5 separate regions of the Homo sapiens genome follow, and all the other regions are linked to region 2. The links are contacts of gene promoters, found by promoter capture Hi-C in human tissues and cell types (Jung and others, 2019). All regions are on one chromosome and are shown on one strand. Each heading gives the region's core, a stretch centred on a gene start or on the middle of the fragment in contact. The rest is flanking DNA. Distances are from core to core; before and after follow the strand shown.

The links. Contacts are between HindIII fragments. The study calls those that stand out against the background at their distance.
Region 1: a fragment that was not itself captured here is called in contact with the fragment with the promoter of AMN in region 2 in 5 of the 25 tissues and cell types used here (H1 embryonic stem cells, IMR-90 fibroblasts, dorsolateral prefrontal cortex and 2 more).
Region 3: a fragment that was not itself captured here is called in contact with the fragment with the promoter of AMN in region 2 in 3 of the 25 tissues and cell types used here (lymphoblastoid cells, mesendoderm cells and spleen).
Region 4: a contact is called between a fragment that was not itself captured here and the fragment with the promoter of AMN in region 2, in 1 of the 25 tissues and cell types used here (IMR-90 fibroblasts).
Region 5: a contact is called between the fragment with the promoter of CDC42BPB here and the fragment with the promoter of AMN in region 2, in 1 of the 25 tissues and cell types used here (small bowel).

Annotation. Positions count from the first base shown.
Region 1 is chr14:102,678,582-102,682,327 of GRCh38, reverse strand. RCOR1 (REST corepressor 1) reads right to left here. Exons shown (of 12, transcript NM_015156.4): 3 at 350-433. Among named protein-coding and RNA genes, the nearest start is that of RCOR1, 88 kb to the right of the region's middle. The HindIII fragment of the contact is 3,359 bases long and covers 52-3,410 here.
Region 2 is chr14:102,920,539-102,923,998 of GRCh38, reverse strand. It overlaps AMN (amnion associated transmembrane protein), which reads right to left and starts at 1,336. Exons shown (of 12, transcript NM_030943.4): 1 at 1,268-1,336; 2 at 170-288; 3 at 20-64. The coding sequence starts at 1,310. RefSeq lists a silencer at 913-1,112. The HindIII fragment of the contact is 38,072 bases long and covers 1-3,460 here.
Region 3 is chr14:102,720,909-102,724,573 of GRCh38, reverse strand. It overlaps RCOR1 (REST corepressor 1), which reads right to left. Exons shown (of 12, transcript NM_015156.4): 9 at 3,490-3,567; 10 at 3,197-3,254; 11 at 2,158-2,387. Among named protein-coding and RNA genes, the nearest start is that of TRAF3, 55 kb to the left of the region's middle. RefSeq lists an enhancer at 1,301-2,500. The HindIII fragment of the contact is 7,835 bases long and covers 1-3,665 here.
Region 4 is chr14:102,759,594-102,763,210 of GRCh38, reverse strand. It overlaps LOC124903390 (a long non-coding RNA gene), which reads right to left. Exons shown (of 2, transcript XR_007064356.1): 2 at 1,549-3,617. Among named protein-coding and RNA genes, the nearest start is that of TRAF3, 16 kb to the left of the region's middle. The HindIII fragment of the contact is 3,713 bases long and covers 1-3,126 here.
Region 5 is chr14:103,056,120-103,059,609 of GRCh38, reverse strand. CDC42BPB (CDC42 binding protein kinase beta) reads left to right here and starts at 2,061. Exons shown (of 37, transcript NM_006035.4): 1 at 2,061-2,611. The coding sequence starts at 2,437. RefSeq lists an enhancer at 924-1,574 and silencers at 1,570-1,679, 1,720-2,219, 2,310-2,389. The HindIII fragment of the contact is 24,533 bases long and covers 1-3,490 here.

The sequences.
Region 1 (3,746 bases), core at 482-2,981, 240 kb after region 2:
CAAAACCCCATCTCTACTAAAAATACAAAAATTAGCTGGGTGTGGTAATGGGTGCCTGTAATCCCAGCTATTCAGGAGGCTGGGGCTGGAGAATCACATGAACCCAGGAAGCAGAGATTGCAGTGAGCCCAGATCGTGCTGCTGCACTCCAGCCTGGGCAACAGAGCCAGAATCCATCTCAAAAAATAAAAAATTTTAAAAAAAGAAATATACACTTTAAAACTCTTTAAATTATTTATCTTAAAATAGAAAAGAAATTTAATACATATAGAAGCTTTTACCTTCAAAGGTACCTTTAAAACCTTACATTAAACAAGAAAGGTGGAAAATAAAGTGCTCCAAGACTTACACTTTGCTTCTGACAGATTTTGATTGGGTGACCAGACCAACATGCCAAGATTGTCCCGTTCTTGACTGCGTCTTGCCAGTTTGGCTTGGGAGAAAGAAAAAAGAAAATTCTTATTAAAATTTAACACATATAATAAGCTATAAGTAACAATACCTTTTAATGACATCACCCACCTTTTTACCTGTATCTGGCCCAATGGGCCCCACACTTAACATCAGAGTGAGGATGGAGATGGGGGAGGCGAGAGTCTGCTGAAACATTTCTACTTGCAAGTCCTTTCCTACTTTTACTGATTTTACAGTATGCTGCTCTGCTTTTAGGCATGAGACATCCAAGAAGAAATCCACAGGTGCCAAGGTGCTCAAAGGTTCTTTTAAAATGTTAATTCTTCATGTGTGCTTGCAGCACCCTTACCCTTCTCTGCCTGAGTTACTTTTTAGTGACTTGGCAATAGAAATCCCAAAATTCTTTTAACAGCATTATTAAAGAATAACTATTTAAAAAGTTTAACCTGAAAGGAAACTTCTAAAATGCATACTAATTCTTAAAAATCTGTTTTGCAAAATAGTAGGCCAAAAGGTTTAAAAGTGCCAGGGGTGGAGCTGACATGTATTACTGAATTAACCGCAAGCGGCTGTCATCTATTACAATACACATATCTTCAGAAGGCAAAGACTCGAGAAACAGGAGGTTCAGTGACCATACCTTCACACTGGTTAGGCCCAGACTTATTCATTCTAAAGGTTAATTTTGGCCACTTTTTTTCCTTTAAATAAATTACTCTGAAAATATGATGAAAGTTATGGAACCTAAACTCTAGGGGGAAAAATGCAACTAAATATAACATACAACCTACTATAAACAAAAATCTAGGAAACCCACAGTCTGGTTGACGAATTTCTTCTTTTATGATACCACCAGATCTCCCATCTTTAATTTTGTCTACCAATGTGTTCTAGGTTTCATAAAGAGGAAATTTTACATTTTTAGTAAAATCTGAGAGGCAGTTACTTTAAAGAACCGTAACAGAATAGTGAAAAGGACCCAAAGTGTGAAAAGTATGAATTAGGTAAAATTAAAAGTTGAATTTCTGTTGCAGATGGGAAGAGGATGTAGATGAGAAAGAAATATGACAAAAAAGATGGAGTGACCGCCTTTGAGTTTACCTTCTTTTTTGAGACAGTCTCACTCAGTCACGCAGGCTGGAGTGCAGTGGTGTGATCTTGGCTCCCTGCAACCTCTGCCTCCCAGGCTCAAGCAATTCTCCTGCCTCAGCCTCTTGAGTAGCTGGGACTACAGGTGTGCACCACCACACCCAGCTAATTTTTTATTTTTAGTAGAGACGGGGTTTCATCATATTGGCCAGGCTGGTCTCGAACTCCTGACCTCATGATCTGCCTGCCTTGGCCTCCCAAAGTGCTGGGATTACAGGTGTGAGCCACCACGCCCAGCCCAAGTATACCTTTTTTATAGATATATACATAGTTCTGACTTCAGAACAATGCTAACGCTACAAAGAATCTAAAACAAAAGTCATCAAAGGTATGTGTGGGGAGGGACCCCAAAGGGAATACAAAGACAAATAAGTCCTGCTGTATTTCCAATAAAAGTCTAAAGTAAAACAAAAATAAAGGCATCCACAGTGGAAAGGTACAATCAAAACTGCACGATTATCTGTGTAGAAAATCTACATTTTGTAGAATCTACAAAATGGTACCAGAATAAACAAGTTTAGTAAGGTTGTAGGAAATAATATTAATAGTAAATAGTCAATTCTATTTCTATATACCAGCAATAAAAAAAAAATCAAAAATCAAAATTAAAGATCATTAGCATCAAATATGAAATAACTTAGGGATAAAGTAAGATGTGTACACTGAAAACTACAAAACACTGCTGAGAGAAACTAAAGATGATCTAAGAAGATGAAGAAATAGATCATAGATATAGACTTATTATTAAGAAGGCATTCTTCCCAAACTGCTCTAAAGATTCAATGCAACTCCAATCAAAATTGTAGCACCTTCTTTTGCCGTAATTGATAAATATTCTACAATTCATAAAGAAAGGCAAAGTAAATGAGACAGCCAATGCAATTTTGAAAAAGAGCAAAGTTGGAAGACTTACACTATCTAAATCAAGACTAATTACAAAAAATCAGTAATCAAGAATGTATGGTATTGGCATAAAGACAGAGAAAAGGCCAGGTGCAGTGGCTCACGCCTGTAATCCCAGCACTTTGGGAGGCCGAGGCAGGAGGATCATGAAGTCAGGGGATCAAGACCATCCTGGCTAACATGATGAAACCCCGTCTATACTAAAAATACAAAAAATTAGCCGGGCGTGGTGGCGGGCGCCTGTAGTCCCAGCTACTCGGGAGACTGAGGCAGGAGAATGGCGTGAACGCGAGAGGCGGAGCTTGCAGTGAGCCAAGATTGCACCACTGCACTCCAGCCTGGGTGACAGAGCGAGATTCTGTCTCAAAAAAAAAAAAGAAAAAAAAAGGGAAATAAATGGAATAGAGTCCAAAAACAGAACCACACATACAGGATCAAATGATTTTCCATAAAGGCACGAAGGCAAAATCAAGCCAAAAATAATAATCTTTTCAACAAATGATGCAGGAACAAATGAATATTCACATGCAAAAACAAAACAAACATTTTTTTAAAAAAATTTGGATCCATACCTCAAAATTATCTCAAAACAGATGACAGAACTAAGTGTAAAACTGAAAAATTATAGAATTTCTAAAGAAAAACACATGGAAATCTTTTTGACCTTGGATTGGGAAAGGAGATCTTAGATACAGTACCAAAATCACAATCCACCAAACATTTTTTAATGGTATACTAAAAATAAAATTTAAAAACTTTTGCTCTGCAAAAGGCACTGTTGAGATACACTACGGACTGTAAGAAAATATTTGCATATCGCATATGCAACAAAGGACTTCTATCCAGAATACATAAAGAACTTTCAAAGTCAACAATAAGGAAAATAACACAATTTTTTTAAAATGGCCAAAAGATTTGAACAGTCACTTCGCCAAAGTAGATATAAAGGGGGTATATTAGATGAAAAGATGCTCTACATCATTAGCCATTAGGAAAATGTAAATTAAAGCCATGATGAGAAACCATTATTTACCTGTTAGGCTGTCTAAAATAAAAGGCATCAACACTACAAAGTGCTGACAAGAATGGGAACAACTGAAATTCTCATACACTGCTGGTGTAAATGCAAAATTATAAAGCCATTCTGGGAAAGTTTTGCAGTTTTTTACAAAGACATAATTATATTTACCAAATGACTGATCTAGCAACCCCACTGTTCAGCCATATACCCTACAGAATTAGCATATGTTCACAATAAAACCTGCACACAGGCTGGGAGC
Region 2 (3,460 bases), core at 87-2,586:
AGTAGCAGCCCGGCCTTACCATGTCTGAGACGGCGTGACCTTCTTGCACCAGGACTGACACCATCTGCAGGAAGAAGCTGCCTCAGCCGAGCCGGGAGCAACCCCCACCGGGGCCACACGGTCTCAGGGGTCCAGGCCCATCACCGACCCCGCCGGCGCTCCCAGGCACCTTGTCCGCCGGGAACTCAACGGCGCCGCCGGCGCACGGGGTCCGGTTCTGGCTCCAGTTGGCTGCGACGTCGAAGTCCGTGTTGGGGACCCAGAGTTTGGAGACCGCCTGGGTCAGTGCTGGGGAGGAGGCGACTGAGTGCCCGGGATGCTCTCCGGGATGCTCCCTTCTCAGGGAAGGCCACCCACCCAGAGAAGTGCGGAAGGTCCGCGCGGATCACCCGGGACGCATAGGAACCCCATCCCCGGGGGCCCGGACCCAGACCCTGGTCCCTCCCGGCCAGACTGTGGGCGCCCTGCCCGGGCGCTCTCCAACGGACTTCTACTGATACCTGCAGAGCCCGCTCAAACGCGCCCTGCAGGACGCCTGCCTAGATAGCCTCCCGGCACTGCCCCCAGTTTGCCTGGCGCTGGAGCAGAGGACAGCGTTGTTAAGGACAGTGACAACTGGGGCATGGAGGAGGATGGGGCAGCACAGACCTCTTCTCGGCCTTGGAATCAGGAAGGCTTCCCGGAGGAGTCCTACCTGGGCCGGGAAGAGCTGCGACAGAGCGCAACCCGGTATGAGAAGTAAGAAGGGGCTGGGGGCGGCAGGACCAGGTCAGGCCGGCCCTGAATGTGGTGGGTGGGGTTGTCCTGAGGGAGCCGCGAGGGGTTTAGGGAAGGGGGCGCCAGGGACACGCGCCGGCCTGGTGTGAAGGCGGAGGAGGGCTCAGTGCTCCCTTGGGGACCGGGAAGCTGAGGCGGTCTGCCGAGCCCCGCAGGCGCACACTCGCTGCTCTCGGCAGGTTCTGGGGACCGCGCCCATTTCGCAGACGGAAAAACCGCGAGGGCAGGAGCCGCCGGAGGCCGGGGCTGGCCGAGGTTCCCGGAGCCCCTCCTCTCCTCTCCCGCACCGCCCGATGCACTGGCCGCGCACTTCCGGGCTGCGCACTCGCCAGACGAGGGAGGCAGGGCCGAGTTTCACGCCCCCAACCCTCCAAAGCCCTCCCTGCCCACTCCTCGGAAGATCTTCACCCTCCAGGCCTAGAGCGACCTCGGCCCTGGGTCCTGACAGACCGCTACCGTCCGGGCCCGCACCGGTGTGGTCCCGGCTCACCGCAGAGCTGCAGCCACAGCAGGACCCGGCCCAGGACGCCCATCTCGCCTCGGCTCCTTGCACCCCACCAGGAGACTTTGCCCCACTGGACCCACGTGACCAGGCAGGTCGGGTGGGGGCACCAGGGTCGGTTACACATTTACCTCCAGACCCGCCCAGGGCCGACTCTTCAGGCCCCTGGGAGGCACCTTCTCAGCCTCCCCTTACCCGCCCCTGCAGGGCCTGAACACCTTAGGTTCTCAGGAAGAAGGGCAAAGAAGAAGGGCTTGGCGAGACTGACCTACCCTGTAAAATGGGTGTCTTGCCGGGAGGGGGAATAAACGACCTTTGAATTCACCCCTTTCTCTGTCCTGTGTGCTGCTAGGGCTGAGCTAGTCTGCTCACCATTGGAACTGGGTGTCCACTTCTCCACGCAGTGCCCCTGTCCCATGGGCTGTGGGTGGTGGTTGGATGATAGAAGGAAGATCCTGGATGGAACATGGTATGTGGATGGTATAGGAGGGTGGATTGTGGATGATGGTGGAGAGTAGTGGATGGTGAGTAGGGGACAGCTGATGGACAGCAACATTGATGGTGCATGGTGTACGGCATATGGACGCATGGCAGATGAATGGTAAATGGTTGACGGGGTGGATGGTGAGTGATAGAGGGTGGATGGGTGATGAATGGATGGATGAGGATGGTGAGTGAAAAATGAATGAATGGCCGGGCGTGGTGGCTCATGCCTGTAATCCCAGCACTTTGGGAGGGTGAGGCAGGCGGATCGCGAGGTCAGGAGATCAAGACCATCCTGGCTAACGCGGTGAAACCCCGTCTATACTAAAAATATACAAAAAAATTAACCGGGCATGGTAGAAGGCGCCTGTAGTCCCAGCTACTTGGGGGGCTGAGGCAGAACGGCGTGAACCCAGGAGGTGGAGCTTGCAGTGAGCCACGATCGTGCGCTGCACTCCAGCCTGAGCGACAGAGCGAGACTCCGTCTCAAAAAAAAAAAAAAAAAAAGGAAAAGGAATGGATGGTAATCAGGGAGTGGTGGATGGATAATGGCATAAATGGATACATGGCCGACAGGTAGATCATAAAGAGTGGGTGTTGGCGGGGCACGGTGGCTCACGCCTGTAACCGCAGCACTTTGGGAGGCCAAGGCGGGCAGATCACCTGAGGTCGGGAGTTCGAGACCAGCCTGACCAACATGGAGAAACCCCATCTCTACTAAAAATACAAAATTAGATAGGCATGGTGGCACATGCCTGTAATCCCAGCTACTTGGGAGGCTAAGGCAGGAGAATCGTTTGAACCTGGAAGGCGGAGGTTGTGGTGATCGGAGATCACGCCACTGTGCTCCAGCCTGGGCAACAAGAGTGAAACCCCATCTCAAAAAAAAAAAAGTGGGTGTTAAATGGTGGATGTTTGGTGAGTGATGAATGCTGAATGGATGGATGGTGGATGGTGAATAGATAGATGGTAAATGGATAGATGGTGGATGATGGTTGCATAAATGGTGAATTGTGGATGGAGATGGACGGTGGATAGTGAATAGATGGTGGATAGTGAATAGACAGTGGATAGTGGATAATGGGTGGATAGTAGATGGTGGATAGGATGATAAATGGATGGGTAATGGATGGTAGATAAGTAGATAATGGATAAATGGTGGATGATGGATGGTAGGTGGATGATGGTTGGTGGGTGGTGGATAATGGACAAGTGAATGGTGATGAGTAGATGGTGAATATTAAGTGGATGGATGGGCGGCAGATGGTAGATAGTGGATGATAGATGGTGGATGGTGGATGGTAAGATGAATAGTGGTTGGTGGATGGTGGGTGGTGGATGGTGGGTGGATGGAAGGATGGGTGGTGAATGAGTGAATGGTGGATGGTGAATAGGTGGATGGTGGATGGTGGATGGTGAATGGCCGATGGTGGATGTGAATGGTGATGGGTGGTGGATGAATGGATGGATGAATGGCGAATGGTGGATGGCAGATTGTGGATAAGTGGATGGTGGATGGATGGATGGTGGATGGGTGAATGGGTGGATGGATGAATGGTGGATGGTAGACAGTGGATGAGGGATGATAGATGAATGGTGGGTGGTGGATGAGTGGATGGCGAATGGGTGAATGGACATATAGATGGGTGGATGGATGGATGGTGGATGGTGGGTGAGTGAATGATGGGTGGATGGTGG
Region 3 (3,665 bases), core at 1,113-3,612, 200 kb after region 2:
ATCACTTGAGATCAGCAGTTTTGAAACCAGCCTGGTCAACATGCCGAAACCCCATCTCTACTAAAAATACAAAAATTAGCCAAGCATGGTGGTGCACACCCATAATCCCAGCTACTAGGGAGGCTGAGGGCTGAGGCAGGAGAAGCACTTGAACCTGGGAGATGGAGGTTGCAGTGAGCCGAGATTGAGCCACTGCACTCCAGCCTGGGTGACAGAGGGAGACTCTGTCTCAAAAAAAAAAGAAAAGAAAGGTATGAGGGGGTACATTTTAAATGACTAGCGGAGTGAAAAAGTTTGTAAAGGGATATAAGGACTATGAAACTAAACACGAGTTAGATAATACCATTCTTCATTTTGTTTTGCAGAGAAGGCTGGGTAAATAGAGACATGGAAGATCAATCACCAAGGAAAAACTATGATCTGCTGCTTGGAGGAGCCATAACTAGACTGTGAAAAGAAAGACGGTACTTTGATAATGCAATCCACACGGTAAGTGGATCATTACGGAAGAACCTTCTGGGCTAATAACAAGGTTAAAAAAAAAATACTTGACTCACTTAAGTCAGTCAACCAATGATCCAAGAATAAGAGAATGAAGAAAAAAACATATGCACAACAACTGACATCCTGTTGGTAGGGACTCTTGGTCCTAAATTTACTATGAGATTTGTTATGCCAGCCCAGCCAACACTGGCTTTGATCAAATGCGAAGAGGGAATAGAGCCAGCGTTCCCAACTGTTTCTGCTTCCAGTCATCCTGGGACCGAAGCCGGAAAACACACACACAAGAAGCAAGCTTTCATTCCTGCAAATTCTAATGGTTCTTCCCCAGCAGTCTCCAGCTTTTCAATGCTTCCGAAACTGAGTGCTAACAGGGGCAATTAGTGCTGGTACAAAAATCACTGAAAATAAAAAGAAATAATAATAAAGAAAAAAATCACTGCTGAAAGATAAAAACACCATCATTTAATTCACATGCTCTTTTCAGGCAGAGCTATGCATGGGGGTGATTCAGGGGTACTGACCTTGGCAATATTATAGACGTGGTACACTTATTATAAAGATTTTCTGGCAAAAGGCTCTAAAGAATCTAATTCTAACAAATTTAATATGTTTCAATGGTGTTCTTACAGATGGCTGTGCCTTGAGGTCCTTTCTCCAGTCAGCAAAGAGGCCCTGCATGGAGTGGCGGCACCACGCTCCCAGGGGATGCCAATACCTCACGAGGTACTTCCATGCTCAGGTCAGGAGGGGCCTTCTGGGCTGTTTCCAGAGCCAGGCCCTTGGAGCAAAATGGTAGCACACGCAATACAAAATAGGTAATCTCAAAACATTCCAGTATGGTTTGAAAAGGCTTTGATGTGAAAGTGACTTTCCTTACAAAGCTAAATTAATTCTTAAATTACCATGCCTGTGAACAAATTCAGATGCAAAGTGATTGGCAAGTAACTCTTTCTTATGCCCAGCCCCAGGCTCATCTGCTCTGGGAATAGAGGGACAAATGTAACAGCAAGGCAGGCCAGGCTAGATGGGGAAATGGCAGGTGCCCCTGACACAGGAAGCAGGGAGGTGACAGATGAGACCAGGGTTATCATTCCAGAAATTAGCCACCATCACAGAAGTTCCAGCCAGCCACAGAACTGTCCCCATCAATACTTAAGCCAATCAGCCCCAAAGAGCATCAAAGGCTGAAAGATCTGGACAGCAGGGAGAGGCCTCAGGAGCTCCTGGCTGGCTCGCTGTGCTGCGTCATGATGATGTGACTGCACATTGCAGATGACGGAGCTTCATCGACATCCCTCACAGACAGGACAGCTTTCACTGCATTTTTACTTTTTGTTTATGCCCCCACTCCCCTGTCTTTGTCACTCAAGATTTTACTGTATTTAAGGAAAAACTGATAATGCAGAGTATTTTGTAGCTGGAGGAAATCAGGATGTAATTCAGGATTTGCCCAGAAATTAACATGTGAATAATATACAGGCACCAAGAACTGGAGTCAATGCATACACATTCCGGCTATTTACAGGTAAGAGTGAAGTTACTAATACAGCTGATACCTAAAAATCTCTATAGCTGAAAAAATTCATCACTTTAGAAACTGGAGTATCAAGCGTGAACCTGACAAGAGAAGTGACTGTTTTGTTTCAGATTTACCTCGTCTTCCTCTTCGGGCATCTTAATGGAATTATCTGGGGACTTCACAGGCTTCTGGTTACTGGGCCCATTGGTCTCTTCTTTACCATGTTCTGCCTCCCATTCTTGTAAAACTTCATCTATGTTGAAGCGGCGTCGATAATTTACAAAAAAGTTTTTCACTTGTACCACTGATTTGTTCCCAATCACGTCTGAGATTGCCTGAAAATCTCGGCCATATTTCCTGATGGCTAAGGATGTAAGAAAGCATTTTTTAAAATACAAGAGAAAAACATTTTTTTAAAACCACAAGTGACACTTACCTCTTTATCCAGATAAGAAAACATACAGGCTTTTAACAGCAGGCAATAATTTCGTGTATTATTAGAGTAGGAAAAAGTACCAGCCAATTCTAGACACATTCTGGAGATGACCGACCCTGTCATTTTGATATCTGTCTTCCCATTACATGTCACATAACAGCTGAAGTCACCCAGCAATTGCCCTAGGGTTGGGGACATTCTGCATTCATCTTTTGGTATCGCAGGTCCAGAGCACCCCCAACCTTTAAAGCTGAACACTCTGTCTGCTTCTTTTGGGGTTTTGTACTTCCTGGCTAGTCAGAGCTCGATGAGTAACTAGTAAAATGAAATACACCTTTAGAAGACTCAGGGTTCCCGGTTAAGTTTTTACAACTTGTGAGAAGTGGGAAAGGAAAAGAAAAAAGCCCAAAGGAATACAGTAATTTGGCTAAAATGATATCCACTAGGACATAATTGTCCAAGAATCTAGGTGCTGGGAGTAGGGCAGGACGTAACTTTTCCCTAAAATCTACCAATGCTCCTAAGCTCTTTTTTTTCCATTAAAAAAAAAATTTTTTTTTTTTAAAGTCAGGGTCTCCCTCTGTTGTCCAGGCTGGAATGCAGTGGTGTGATCATGGATCAATGCAGCCTTGAGCTCCTGGGCTCAAGCAAATGCGTCAACCTTCCAAAATGTTGGGATTACAGGTGTGAGCCACCACAGCCGGCCTCCTAAACTCTTTAGAAGAACTTCCCCCTACCTTGTACGGCGAGAAGCTGCTCTTCTGTAGTCCAACGTGCATTACATTTCTGAATGACCTGGATATCCAAATGAGTCATTTTAGCACATTACATTTAGAGATGAGTATGTCCTTATGAGCTTAACGAACCTTTCATTTTCTCTTATCGGAATTTTAACATCAACTGGGTTCATAAAATTATGTCCATATACTCTTCCAAGAGATGTATACTGGGGATGTATCACACCGATATTAAATTCTTAAACATGTAAAACTTGAATATGACTTCTAAGATGATGTTAACATAATCCTACCTCTGGAAGTCGATATGGTTCTATTCCACCATCAAGTTTTTCTTTGAGAGCACTGTTTGTCTGTTTAATATTCTGGATCTAGGAAGGAAAAAATAATTTTCATTTTAAAAATAAAAACTATATAAAGGTATGAAAACAGAACTTAAAAACCTAAAGAAACAAAAACCCAAGAGTAA
Region 4 (3,617 bases), core at 21-2,520, 160 kb after region 2:
TCCTCCCCACCTCTTTAACTTCACTGCACCCAGGCTTCATAACCCTCTGCGTGGACTCTGAAGAGGGGCAGCCATGAATTCGCTGACGTTGTTTTCAGAACTGTGGGTTGTGGGGTTTTTTGCCCTTGAATGGGTGTCCAGCTGCCAGTGGGTAGTCAAAGGACCTGAAACCCTAAAAATGCAATAGAATTTCTGACATTTGGTCAGGAATAATAATAATAATAAAAAATCAGCCTAAACATACAACTTTTTTTTTTTTTTTTTTTTTTTTTTTTTTGAGACAGAGTCTCGCTCTGTCGCCCAGGCTGGAGTGCCGTGGCACAATCTCGGCTCACTGCAAGCTCTGCCTCCCGGGTTCACACCATTCTCCTGCCTCAGCCTCCCGAGTAGCTGGGACTACAGGCGCCCGCCACCACACCCGGCTAATTTTTTTATTTTTAGTAGAGACGGGGTTTCACTGTGTTAGCCAGGATGGTCTTGATCTCCTGACATTGTAATACGCCCACCTCGGCCTCCCAAAGTGCTGGGATTACAGGCATGAGCCACCGCGCCTGGCCCTAAACATACAACTTCTAATGCTTTTCATAACGAGGCAAAATCCAGTAGCATCATTTAGATGCATTGAAGTTGGGAAAATTTCAAAAGTGCTGGAATTTCCTCCAAGCCATTCCCTGACTCTACCCACCCCTCCCATCCCCTTATACCTGCCACCATTCCCCCCCAGCATTTCCCCCATCCCTCCCCATCCTCCTATTCTACCCCCATTCCCCCAACCAGTTCCCCCACCATCCTCCCTTATTCTCCCTACAACCCCCTTGCAATTCCCCCCATGCCTGCCATTCCCTACCACTCTATTCCTTCCCCACCAGTCCCCGACCCTGCTCATGCTTCCCCCTTCCTCCCCCAACCTGCTCACCATCCTCAGCCTCCCCCCAAAGACTGAAGAGTGGGCAGCCCCTGAGGGCTGGGAATAAACACCAACATCTCTACACAGAATCCCAACTCCTGAGAGCTCTGACTGCAGGGCCACGTGTTTCCTGGCCCCTCCCCACTCTCCTAGTCCTTGAAACTCCAGCTCCTCTTTCAGAGACACACAGCCCAGGGTGTGGGCCTGCTCCAGCAGGTTGGAGATGCAGAAGTCTGAGAGGAGACCCAGAGACACCTCAGGCCCTCTGGAAATGGGCAGGCTTCCAGGGTTTCCAACAGAGAAAAAAGACCATTCAGCCAGGAGCGGTGGCTCACGCCTGTAATCCCAGCACTTTGGGAGGCCGAGGCGGGTGGATCACCTGAGGTCGGGAGTTTGAAACCAGCCTGACCAACATGGAGAAACCCCATCTCTACTAAAAATACAAAATTAGCCGGGCATGGTGGCACATGCCTGTAATCCCAGCTACTCGGGAGGCTGAGGCAGGAGAATCACTTGAACCGGGGAGGTGGCGGTTGCAGTGAGCCAAGATCGTGCCATTGCACTCCAGCCTGGGCAACAAGAGCGAAACCCCGTCTCAAAAAAAAAAAAAAACAAACACAAAACAAACAAACAAAACCTAGTGGCTTAAATAACAACGATCTTTTTTTTATTTTCTCCAGATTTCTGGGGGTCAGGAACTCGGGCAAGGTTTAGCTGGAGTCTGTCCTGCAGTTGCCTTCGGACAACGGCTGGAGTTGACTAGTGTGGGGCTGGCCAGGCGTGTGCCCACAGGGGTGCCCCCGGCCTCCTCGCAGCAGGCAGGCAGTCTGGCAGCTTTGAGAGCAGGTGTTCCTGTGCCACACTGACGACCACCATCGGACGTCACATAGTGTCACTTCTGCCATACCCCACTGGCTACAAGCAAGTCACCTGCCTGCCCAGACTCAAGGGGAGGGGACACAGACCTCCCCTATCTCAGAAGGAGCGTCAGACCGCAGTGTCGAAAAGCGTGCTGGGCAGGAAACACCATGGACCACCCTTGGAAAGCACCGCCTTGGCCCTGGAGGTCCCGGGAAGTGGAGCTGGAGCAGGGATTCAGGGCGCGTGGCTTATTGAGGGAAGGCTCTTCAATAAACGCCTGGGAGGGAGGGAAGACAGCGGCACGGGGAAGGGGAAAGAGCCGAGCAAGGGTGTAGGCTCAAGTCAGGTGCTCTCTGGACCACAGCCCACACCACTGCTTTGCCCCGCCTTGAAGAAAGGGGGCCCGGCCAGCCATCGGCTGTGACTCCCAGGCAGTGAGGAAGAGCACAGCCAGGATGTGTGGCTCCTGTCAGCCAAGGCCGTGCTCTGAAAAGGAGGCGGGCGTGCTGTCAACAGCCCGCACTCACCACGGTTAGGGAATGGGTGCAGCAGCCCATGAATGTGGTGCTGGCAGGGCTCAGTGCGGACTGCAGGGTGGTGCACCGTCCTCCTATCTCTGCGCCCGTGCCCCTTGGCATCTGACTTTGTTCCTTCTACGGAGAGGATCTGCTCCCCACTCCTTCCGTTTGGGCCCAGCCATGTCACTTGCTTCAGCCAACGGCACGTGAGCAGGTGTGACACACACACTGAGAGGCTCTGAGCTCCTGAAGATTCTGGAGGCAAATGGGAAGCAGCTGTTGGTGTGTTTCCAGAGAACCCCCAACCATGGCTCATGCTTTAGCCCTTGGGGCTCTGACTTCTCTGGAGCCTTAGACTTGCAGTTTGGGAAAAGCCAGGTTCACGGGTTCATCTTCCAGTTGCCACAGCTCCAAGTTAGAGCCAGAGAGCGCTCCCAGCAGGTCTGGGAAATGCTGAGCTGCCCGTTGCAAGGCATTTTTTTGGGGGGGGTCTCCTGGATAAAATTTCAATATTAAACATGAAGATTTTGCTATGATTCAATCCTCACTGGGCCTGAGGAAAGAGTTGTAACTACATTTCGATGTAGCATTTGAAGGGATTTAGTGATTTTCCATTAATTTCTTTCAAATGTCAAGGGTATATATCTTTCTTTGAGGACTCAGCCTATGGCAAATTTCAGATTTAAAAAGACCCATCGATGGAGTTATGAGACCAAGAAGGGGAGCCAAAAATCTACAATTCAGAAATTATGAAACAGCTAAGTTTTCAGTTAATTCAAAAACCGTCTCAGTGGAAAATGTTGTAAGCTTCCCATGCATAATCAAATAGATCTGGTTTGGAAATGCAACGGAAATGAATTGCTTGTAGGAAAGCTTTCCTTCTGAATAAAACGATCAAGCTCAGATCAAAGTCATGGCAAGTGATGGGTTCCCATTGCAGAAAACATTGGAGGGAAGACCACAGTTTAGCTCTAACAAGGAAACAAGTCGGATCCTTCCTCTCTCCTTCCCAGACTGTCTCCCCCTCTTCCCCAGCCTGGCCTCACAGCTGAAAAAGCATGCAGAAAGTGTTGTCTTCAATTTTACGGAGCAATGAATTTTGTAGTAAATATTTATTAGCTTCTTAGTAAATACGATTAAATTTCTGGCTGAGCTTTGCATGGCTTTCATTAGAATGAGCTAAGGTTTACTTTCAAGTCTAAGGAGATACAATAGAGTAAAACGGGGTAGACATTCAAGTGCAAATGAAAATTGGTGGCGATTACAGCAGGAAAATGCTGTCTTCCTGGCTCTGAGCAGCAGAAGGCTCTGGCAGGGAGCCAGGGCTCAGG
Region 5 (3,490 bases), core at 812-3,311, 130 kb before region 2:
GGTGGTGGTTCTAGATGGGTGGAAGTGGGCTGAGCGAGCCGAGGGAGGTTTGGGGAAGGAGATGGCACCAGGCACAGCCCCCTTTCCCCTTGCTCATCTCAGGCCCTAAGGGGTCCAAGGGGGAAGATTTAACTTTGATTTTGAGCCAGGTGATCTGCTCAGACTTTTTAAAAAAAACTTTTAAGGTGTCATACACAAATAGTAACATGCAAATATTTAGAATACAGTTTGATGAATTTATACACATTTACAGACCCAACGTTACAAAACGGCTGTGCTGAAGATACAGAATGTTCCCAGCCCCCTAGAGGCCTCTCCTTGTGCCTCCTTCCAGTTGATACCCCAAAGGCAACCAGTACTCTCACCTCTAACGCCAGATTGTTCTCACCTGCCTTTAAGAAATGAAGGTATTATATATACATACACACAGTGACATGCACTCATCTTAAGAAGACAGTTTGAAGAATGTTTACTTATGCGTGCTCCCATGTAACTACTACCCAAATCCAGGCATAGAACATTACCAGCAGCCCAGAAGGTTCCTCCTCTTGTTCCAGTCAACAACTCCGGCATAGGCAGCCACTCCTCTTCTTCTTCTTCTTCTTCTTATTATTATTACTATTATTAAGACGGAGTCGTGCTCTGTTGCCCATGCTGGAGTGCAGTGGAGCGATCTTGGCTCACTGCACTTTCGCCTCCCGGGTTCAAGTAATTCTCCTGCCTTAGCCTCTCGAGTAGCTGGGACTACAGGCGCGCGCCACCACGCCCGGCTAGTTTTTTGTATTTTAGTAGAGACGGGGTTTCACCGTGTTGCCCAGGCTGGTCTCGAAGTCCTGAGCTCAGGCAATCCGCCCACCTCGGCCTCCTAAAGTGCTGGGATTACAGGTGTGAGCCACCGCGCCAGGCCCACTCCTATTTTTAGCTCCAGAGATTAGTTTTGCTTCAGGCTCCCTTAACGTCCTGCTTCAAACCCCTATCTGCCCCTTCATCGGCTCCACCTGGAGGCCACCGCTTCCACGGAAGCATGACCCCTTCCCCTGCACCCGCGCGCCCCAGAAGCTCTCAGATACCCCCACGATTTCGGTGACCTTCCGCAAGCTCCAGGAAAAGCCCCTCCTCTCCTGACGCCAAGGGTTTGTTGGGGTTGGGGGGTATCTCCATCAGCCTCCCTCCCCCAGCCACCCAAATTAACCAACAATCTTAGTAAATGCAGCGACTCGCTAGGCAAACCCAGCCTGGAGACAAATATCCGGCCCCTTTCCTACCAAACTGTCACACCTAGGCATTGGTCTGCAGGGAGGGCTGGACAGTGGAAACTGAAACCCTCTGCAAGCCATCACGAATCCACCGGGCACTGGGGACGCTGGCTCCCGCCTTGGCAGCATCCCCCAGAAGCCTGGGCCCTGACCCCACACCGTCTGGGCCTCAGTCTCTCATCGGTAAAGTCAGGGGTAGGGCCCGAGTCTTCCAGGACCGCTTCGAGCTGGGACAAGCCGTTTTAAATAGCCCACAACCCGCCGAGGCCATCAGAGCTGCGCCTGCCGGGCCGCCCTCGACCCCCACCTCGGCCGGGCAGGTCCGAGGCCCCGCAGGCAACATGGGCCCGCGGACTGCGGGACGGGGCTCGACGGCCTGAGATCGCGACTCTGCCTCTCCGATACTTGGGGTCGTCTTCGGCCCCGGGATCCGCGACGCGCGCGGTCGGACCCCGAATACTGAAGGCACCGGGTCCGCAGGGCGAAGGCGCACACGCCCACCAGGCGCGCTCTGCGCATGCGCGGGCTCCGCAATCTCAGCGGCCCACTCGCCCCGCCCCGCCCCCCCCACCCCCACCCCGCGCCGCTCCCCAGGCCCGGCCCTGCCTTCCCAGCATCCCGGCTCCCTACGGCAAGCGGCGAGGCCCGAGCCCGCCGGGAGCAGGGAGCCGGGCGCGGGGCGGGGCGGCGCGCTGAGGTCAGCGCGGCGGCGGCCGGCCCCGTAGTGGTTGGCTGCGCTGGTGCTGGCCGCGCCCTGGTTGGCTGCGGGCCGCGGGGCTGGGCCGCCGGGTCGGGGCTGGGGTCGGGCTCGGGCGCCGGCCGGGCTTGCGCAGCGCTAGGCTCCTCGCCGCTCCTAGTCTGCGGCGGCGGCGGCGGGGAGGGCGCGGCCGCGGGCGGGGCTGAGGGCGGCGGGGGCGGGCCGCCCGAGCTGGGAGGGCGGCGGCGCCGAGGGGAGGAGAGCGGCCCATGGACCCGCGGGGCCCGGCGCCCCAGACTCTGCGCCGTCGGGACGGAGCCCAAGATGTCGGCCTAGGCCGGGGCGCGACGACGCGGACGGGGCGGCGAGGAGGCGCCGCTGCTGCCGGGGCTCGCAGCCGCCGAGCCCCCGAGGGCGCGCCCTGACGGACTGGCCGAGCCGGCGGTGAGAGGCCGGCGCGTCGGGAGCGGGCCGCGCGGCACCATGTCGGCCAAGGTGCGGCTCAAGAAGCTGGAGCAGCTGCTCCTGGACGGGCCCTGGCGCAACGAGAGCGCCCTGAGCGTGGAAACGCTGCTCGACGTGCTCGTCTGCCTGTACACCGAGTGCAGCCACTCGGCCCTGCGCCGCGACAAGTACGTGGCCGAGTTCCTCGAGTGGGGTAAGTGCGCGCCGGCAGGGCCGGACCTGCGGCTCTGCGACCCCCGCGCCCCAGCCCGCGCATCCCCACGCCCGCCCATCCCCGCCCGGACAGACCCTGCCGCCCTCCTGCCCACCCAGCTCGTGGGCTTCGCCTCCTCTCGCTCTGGCAGCGCCCCCAGGCCCGCAGCCCATCTCTCTCCAGCCGCTCCTTGCACCCTCGTCCCTCCGCTAGCTTTTCATCCCTCCTTGCCCTCCCTAGGCTCGACATCCGCGTTCGATCGTCCCGCCCCCTCATCCTGCCCCTTGGAGCCACATCCTACGTTCCCACTCCCACCCCCTCCCCCCCGCCGGGCCCTCGCCCTGGCGGCTTCCTAGATCCACCCTCCGAGTCTGGATATCATTTCCTGCAGCACTCACTGGGATATCCGCCCCCGCCCCCGCCCCCGCCCCCGCACCTCGCCTTTGGGGTCCGGAGGCAGTGTGGAATTAGTTCCCTTTCCCCACCCCACGCTTCTCTGCGTTGTGGGGGCAGCTGGGTGTGCTTTCTGCATCTGCCTCGCCCACTGCCCCGTGGGACCCCCTTGCATCCCCAGGGAGCCCAGCTCTAACGGCCCCTCCTGGGTGACAGCCTGTCTACATCCCCTTGTTGGTCAGAGCCTGAATACCTACTTTGCTGTAACACCTTCAAGGGAATTTTAAGGTTAAGGCTTTATTTTAAATAAACCGTGCAAGAGGACTTTTTTTTTTTAATTCCAATTCTGCTAGACCTTTGTGATATTTGGAGGGGTAGCTGGAGCTATCACTTAGAAACTTTCTCATCTGAATTTTGCATGCCTTCTCTAGTTCGTTCCGGATCTATAATGTTTTAATCATTGGTCAGCTAACCTATTATGCTTTT